2 separate regions of the Homo sapiens genome follow, and region 2 is linked to region 1. Evidence: promoter capture Hi-C in human tissues and cell types (Jung and others, 2019). All regions are on one chromosome and are shown on one strand. Each heading gives the region's core, a stretch centred on a gene start or on the middle of the fragment in contact. The rest is flanking DNA. Distances are from core to core; before and after follow the strand shown. Region 1 holds the start of CYYR1 (cysteine and tyrosine rich 1). Region 2 has its middle 96 kb from the start of LINC00161.

Region 1 (3,855 bases), core at 632-3,131:
CAGCTTCGCTGATTTCCTGAGCCCTGAGGAGCTGGGCACCTAGCACTGGGGAAACAGGAGGAGGGGGCAGATGTGTAAAGCAGAAGCTTTCAGTTTACCACAGGGAATATAATAAACAAACAAACAAACAAACAAAATTGTGGTTCAATGGAGTGGTTGAATAAGTGTGAGTGAAAGTATTAAATATTGTCGAGCAGAGGAAGTGAAAAGCATAATTACTTCGAAAGAACTAATAAAGAGATTTTTTCAATAGAAAATGAATATTAATGCAGTTGACTCTGTTAATCCCTCAAATTCTGAAAACCTTATACAAATTTAATAAAAGAAATAAATGTTGTAAACAGATTAAATGTAATTCTCTTCATTAAATACGAAGAACTTATCCTACTTTTATGAATTTTCATATTAGAAGGTCAGCATTTTTCCTGCCATAAAACATCTTTAAAATGGTAACTCCTAGACAGCCACTAATTTGCATTTCAATAAACAGGCTAAAAATGTCTACAGAAGTTATGGTGACTCTTTTCTAGCAAGGTTGAATGAGAAATTCAATTCTTTTAATACTCAGGTGCAACACTGAAGAACATCATTTCAGTTGCAATATCTTTTTGAGTATCAAAGGTAAATTTCAGTGCTATATATACATTTCGTATTGGAGGCTCAGGGGTGAGCCTGCGATTTTTGTCATAGGACGTTAGAGACACAAAAACATTTTACAAAGAACTTTGCTTTTAGCTTGCATTGTTTTGTGAATATGAACTGATGCAAAGACCACGTGTGTAAGACACTTTATACCTGAATAACCAATGAAAGGCCATTTGGGGCTCCATATTAATCACAAACAAGAAAACCCACTTTGCTTCGTTAATTATTAGCAGTTCTTACTACGAATAATTAGAAGGGAAACCAGATGCCCTTCTCTTATAAACAAGTGTCTATCTAAATCAACGAACCTGTACAGATTAGACCCTGGGTGAATTCATGCTTCTCAAAAACCTTGTGTTTGACTTCAGTCCAATAGCTCAGTCTACCACACTTGTGAATCTCCCAAAGAACGAAAACAAAGCTCTAAGTTTTTTTTATTCACAAGAGGGAAAACCAGGACTATTTAGAAAGCAGAAGATGGAGAGGCCACTGCCTAGCCTATCCAGATAAGTTTATTTGGATATAGTTTACTCTATCCAGAGAGTCAAATCCCCTAAACACGAGACTGCTATTTCCAAGGTGGAAAGGGAAAGAAAAGAAATGCAAAAGGTAAAAGTTAAAGGAAAAGGAACAAAACAAAACCGCGTGCGGCTGGAAGTGCGCGGGTTTCTGCCGTCGCCTCGCGGAAAAGGCAGAAGCGTCTGCAAAGGTCCTTCTGCAAAGGTCCCGGTCCGTCCAGCTCAACCCACGTTAGCCCGGACCGTGACCCAAGGGCAGCCCCGAGCCTCTGACCCTCTCCGCCGCCCTCCGTCACTGACCTGCGTAGACAAAGAGCAGGACCAACTTCGGAAGCAAGACCCCTGGACGCACGGGTAGCCTCGGAGCGTCCATCCAAGCCGGTGGCCTGAGGCTTGGAGCGAAGGGAGAGCCCGGAACCGGAGGGAATGGGGAGGATGGAGGGCGATCAGATGGAGAGAGCAGCGCTCCTGAGAGCCGGGTGGAGCAGAGACCCGGCCATTGCCTAGGGAGCCTTCCAAGGGAGCCCGGGCCGGGCGCGTCCCGGGCCAGCGACTGCGGGACTCCGCGGAGCTGGGGCGCCCGTGGCCCGAGACGGGCTGCGCTGGGGGCCCAGGTCTCTTTGTCTCGCCCCACTGCGCTCAGGCGCGGGGAAGGCGGCCACTCCGGCGTCCTTGGCCACCCAGGCTCACATTTCATCTCCGCGGGTGGCAACGACTGCGGGCAGGGGGCGGGGGTGGCCCCGACTCCTCCCCAAGCCCGGGTTCTTCCTTCTAAAGAGTGACTAGGGGACCAAGAAACTTTTCCTAACCCCTTGCTTTGGCGATTGCTATGGAGTTCAGCCTGCTCCTTTTTAACCTTGCCTCCACTACAATTTTTCCTTTCTAAGCAATGGATGAACAACTTTGCTTTTTATCTTTAAACAAAGGGAAGGAATTTTCAGGGTTGAAGGTATTCGACAAAGAGTGACAGTGAAGAAAACTCAGGATTGGGAAGTACAGAAAGTGTATGGCATCTCTGCTGAAAGCTGATAAAATGTTTATTATTTTTTCCTGTAAATTCAGAAAAAAAAAACACAACAGTGCACACTGTCGTTATGATTTTGACGTTTTGGAGTTACTGGCCTATGCAATTAAACAAGAGAAAGAAAAAGATTTATGAAAAATGAAAGCTAAATTGTCATTAGCAAATGAAATACGTGTATACATGGAAAATCAAAGTTAATCAACTATAAAGCTCTTGTTTAGCAAACCAATAGTTTTCTTTCCTGCAAACAAAAATCAGAAAGTTCTCAATGTTATGCATGAAGGAAAAAAAATGATACGAATAAGTAAAGAGATACTTTTTTCACTAAGAAAATTTAGTAGGATAAAGACAACAAGATTCCCCAAATTATTATATACATTTGGAAATAAAATTGATCCCAATTTTTAAAATAACATGATTTTTTTCAAACCAATCTGATTCTAAAGTTTATATGGAAAATAAATATGTAAGAATATCTATTTAAAACAAGAGTAATGAATGGGAATAATGAATGGGATATTACATATAATATCACAATAATTAAAACAGTTTAGATTAACATTGGAATAGATAGGCTTAGTGAAAGAGAAAAGGTAACCCAAAAGTAGACATGAGTATGTACAGCAATTTAATTTATGGTTTAAAGAAATATCAATGTAAAGTAGTAGGGGAAATGATGAGTTACTCAGTGAAAAGTGTTGAGGCCGTAAATAGCCATCTGTGGAGCCTTATCTTTTTACATCAAAATCAGTTCTATATGAATTACATATTTAAGATACAACTATGAAAATATTAGATTAAAAAATAAGAGGATAACATTCAAATAATTGTGGAATAGGGAAGCCTTTTCTAAGCATTATAAAAAACTCAGAAACCATAAAACAAAATATTGACCAACTTGACTAAATAAGAATTAATACTTCCAGTTGGCAGACATTTAACTGGCAAAAATATTTGCAATGCAAAGTCCTAATCTCATTATTATACTGAGCTTAAAAAAATCAATAGGAAAAACAACCAAGAGATAACTGAGGAAGGATATTAATAGACACTTCATACAAAACAAATAAATATAAATATAGAAATAAAATTGACAGTGAGACATCACTTTTCATGTATCAAACCAACCAAATACAAAACCAAATGAACTCTTAAGGGAAACGGTGTGGTTATATGTACGAAAATTCAAATACACATGTACTTAATTTAGTCAGTTCTCTTCCAGGAATTTTTTCCTGTAAATGCAGTGCTGCAAGGGAATACGAGAGTGGGAGGAAACATCACCCCCAAAATAAACATAAGCTAAGCTCTTTACTGTGTTTTACACGTTGGTGAAGGCCCAACCATCCACCATGTTCTAAAGAAGGCTGATCAGTTCCACCTTTTTTCTCATCCTCGCTGGCCAATCTATCACCAAGTTCACCTAATCTGTCCACCTGAACACCACCCAAACGCATTTTAAATTATCATCTATTTCTGTCCTAATCTAGACTTTTATAGTCTTGATTATATTCAGCCTCCCTGCCTTCAGAGATGTTTGCCAGACTGAAGCTGGAATATTTCTTCTTAAACTACAGATTTCATCATGTTCACTCACTCAGTAGCATCCTGTTGCCCTTAGGTTAAAATTCAAACATTTAATCCAGGGTGTTCAAGAACTTGTTCACT
Region 2 (3,855 bases), core at 811-3,310, 1.9 Mb after region 1:
CTTGCTCTGGAAATGCTCAAAGCCAATCACATAAGATAGGCCTGAAAATATGTAGTGCTAGAATGCACTAATAGAAATGTGTACTGATACAATGCCAAGCACATAGTAGGTATGGAAAATAAGATGTTCTTGCTTTGGCAAAAATAGACCAAGGAGCTATTTGCCTACAGAGGAGCTAATTATTCTGCCTGATGAAGCTGGATAATTTTCCATAAAGGAAATGGCATTTGATTTGGGTTTACATGGATGAAAACACATTTCCCAGATGGTGAAGAACACAAAGACTGTTTTTGGAAGAGGCAAAATCACATGTGAAAGCACAGAGACCCATTAAAAATGTGTAGAATAATCACACATGCCCGATCTCAAGTTCTAAAATTCTAGTGAAGATGGATTTACTCTGTACATTATATCCTCGGGGAAATTTTAGTTTCCATGCACATGAATTTACACTTCTCCCTGACTTAGATTATTAGAGAAATAGGAAACTAGAAGTTAAGAAAAGGAAGCTGAAATAACTCATAAGGGAAAAGATAAAAGAGAGATGAGGCAATGCAATGAAACTGTAGGAGAGAGAAAGAGAGCTGGGAGAAGATTATCCCCAAACCTTGCAATTGAGTGTTTTGGTTTATGGGTGAAAACATCCCTGAAGTTATAGGTGAGGAAGGGCTTTCTTGTAAATTTACTATGTTCAGAATTGGCACCACTGGGCCCTGCACTGGGGAATGCAAGTTGAGAAATAAAGACTACGTGAGGTTAGTTTTTCAGCTCAGGCATCCACATGAATGTCTGCAGAAATGCGGTGAAACCACACTGATAAAAGGTAAATTAAAATCATAAAATCAGAGAGGCTTTGAAAATTAGACAGTGGACAAACACAGGGACTCTTCTGCACTGTAGATTAACACCATCAAACAAAACAAATGTATAAGTTCTGTATTTAATATATGGAAAAAGGAGAACAGAGATACTGAAAAGTCACTGGAGATCAAAGAATGATAAATTAATATATATCCATTCCATGCTATTAATTACCAAATGAAGGAACGTGTGAGATATTGACATTCTCATTATTTGGTGGGCTGTTTTCATGGCTCTATTTTAGAAAACATAAACTATGTTCATCAGATTTTTGAGAGATTAACTAATTATCTCATTTCCCCAATCCTAATTTTCCCTGGCGGGATTGTAAGTTTCTTACATAGGGATTTTAGTAATCTAATTTTATGTATAGAGAAGAGACTATTACATTGTGGCCGACTAAATTCACCACATCCCACGTGGTTGTATACACACAACCTTAGGAGAATTGCAAGAAGCAAGTTTGTCAAAGTGAAACCAAAGAGTTTGAAAAGTGTCCTGTAGCCGGTAAGAAACCAAGGAAAGATTTTAGGTAACTCTGTCTTGAAAATAATTGTTTATTACTGCCTCCTCTTCTTGTCTATTGAGAGTTCTTTTTGTAAGGTGCCATCTTTAAATTATGTTGAGTCTTCCTGGAAATTCAGTGGAAAATTCTTTTTTATTGAGAACATATGCATTAAAGGAAAGGAATTTTACATGTGTGAGAATACAAAATAACCAATATTCTAAGTTAAAGAGAGAGACGGAAAGAGAGTAACTTGTTTTGGGCTCCTTCACTGCAAAAGAAGGAGGTTTGGTATTGTTTTCATTTTTTTAACTGCATGCATTGCTTAGTGGACAAATGAAAATTAGGCAATTCTATTTGCCAAAGCTTCAAGATCTCACTCTTGAATCAGAATACCAAGTACACTTAAGATACAGCAAGAAGGAAGCTGCAATCTGGCATCACACATGAATCATATGTAAACTATGTACAGTAGTGATCTTCCCAGTGGCAGAAAAGCTCAAAGCCACATGAAACCAATCAACACCATATTGATGTCATCTTCTCAAAACTTCTCATCTGTTTCATAGCCATCAGACATTGTGATCTTTAAAGCAGATATTTACCCTCTCTGTTGCTAACTAAGCCAAATTTTGCATTACAGTAATTTTTTACAAAATATTTTTTTCAGATTGTTGAAAGAACATAAAATGTAGTGGTTTATTTATTTAGTGGTAACAGTAATTAACACTAATATTATTAACTAACTTATAAACTGTCCATTTAAAAACATGCTTATACATTTATTATGTGTCTTTTTTAATGACTAGATCAGCCAGACTCCTAATAGAAAATTATGACATTCTCAAACTGGATAATTGGAGTTCAATAAAACACCTATTTCTAAAAGTATGGATAAAGCTAAAAATGGTAGCTCAAATAATAGTAAAATACCTCTTTCTTGCAACCTCTGATAGGCAATTGCTCCTCTGGTTTGGAAACTGTCCCTTCCAGAACTCATGCTGAAATGCAGTTGCTATTGTGACAGTATCAAGAGGTGGAGTCTTTAAAAGGTGGCAGGCCATGAGGGCTTCACCCTTACATGTGGAATGGGTGCCTTTATAAAAGGGTAAAATTGGTTTCCTCCTTCTCTCTTGACATTCTGCCTTCCACCATATGATGACACAATAAGAAAGCCCTTGCCAGATGCTGGCACCTCAACCTTGGATTTCCCAGCCTCAAGAAGTAAATTTCTGTTCATTATAAATTACCACATCCGTGTCATTCTGTTATGGCAGCACAAAATGGACTAAGGCAGTTGTCAACAACTTGACAAATCTCAAACTCCCCCTTGGCATCTGAGGTACAAGGCAGAGACCCCACTGAGAAGTCTTCTATGTGTTTACATGACATGAGTGGATTTAGTTTTCCTCATCATAATCTGTCAGAGTTTCCTCTTAGACAAGCTTGTGAAAAATACATCGTCATGCCCTTAACACTGGATTGGAAAAACTGCACCAAAATCGCTTGAAGGAAAACCGACTGAACAAAGTTTCACAATAATGTCACTCCTACAATGCATCATCTATGCAAAACAAGATATCAAATTCTATAACTTTCCAGCACACTAAATTATCTCCCATTTCCTCTACTTTTTTTCTTACAAAAACACATACTACACTCACACACGCACCTTAATTGCCTATCAACAAAAACTGTGTACTGAAACTTCCAAAGAAGTTAGGTGAGGGTTTAAGTATTCCTTTTACATTTGCATGCATGTAAGCACCTGTGATCATAGGTCTTACCTTTCATGGTTTCCTAGGTAATAGGACCTCTTCGTTGATAGAATGATCCTAATATTGACATAGGAAAAGGGGCCACAAATAAGAGTTGGGCTGTTACTTAGGAAAGCTTGTCATTGTTACTTCCCCAGATAACAAGAATAAATGATGCAATAAAAGAATGAGTGCCTGCTTCAGCAACTCATCATTAAAAGTGAAGAACTACCACAGGAAGCAGAACTCGAAAAGAATGTATGCACTTATGCAACCTTTCTTGTAGCTTTTTGCAGCTAATTCTTATTATTATACATCAAGATAAGAAAAAAATCACATAAATCTTTGAAGAAAAATGAATGAAAGAGGGCTTTCTTTAAAGGTTACTAGCTAAATCCATTTCTTTACTTTCTGATTTTTTCTTTCTTTTCTTTTAAATAATCATTGAAGGCATTGATTCAAAGGAAGTTAATGCTGCAAAAGACCTAGAAATCATCTAGGAGTCTTTTGACTTTAAAATACTTTTTCTGAAGAATAATTTGTTCAAGTTCAGTAAAATTCCAACATGTGACAGAGCTTTGTTCTGGCTGAAGTCCACTTGGGTTCCCTTCCTCTTGTAGCTGACATCAGTAGTGGCTTCTACAGGGATTCTGGGTAATTCCTCCCAGAGCACTGGCCTGGAATAGTGCCCTCTATGTAGAAATAAGAAAAAAATGAGGCACAGAAAGATGA

What was found. The method cuts DNA at HindIII sites, captures the fragments that hold promoters and counts their contacts. A contact is called where the count stands out against the background at its distance.
Region 2: a contact is called between a fragment that was not itself captured here and the fragment with the promoter of CYYR1 in region 1, in 1 of the 25 tissues and cell types used here (dorsolateral prefrontal cortex).

Annotation. Positions count from the first base shown.
Region 1 is chr21:26,571,405-26,575,259 of GRCh38, forward strand. CYYR1 (cysteine and tyrosine rich 1) reads right to left here and starts at 1,882. Exons shown (of 4, transcript NM_001320768.2): 1 at 1,464-1,882. The coding sequence starts at 1,536. The HindIII fragment of the contact is 7,865 bases long and covers 1-3,855 here.
Region 2 is chr21:28,440,995-28,444,849 of GRCh38, forward strand. No RefSeq gene overlaps it. Among named protein-coding and RNA genes, the nearest start is that of LINC00161, 96 kb to the right of the region's middle. The HindIII fragment of the contact is 3,386 bases long and covers 368-3,753 here.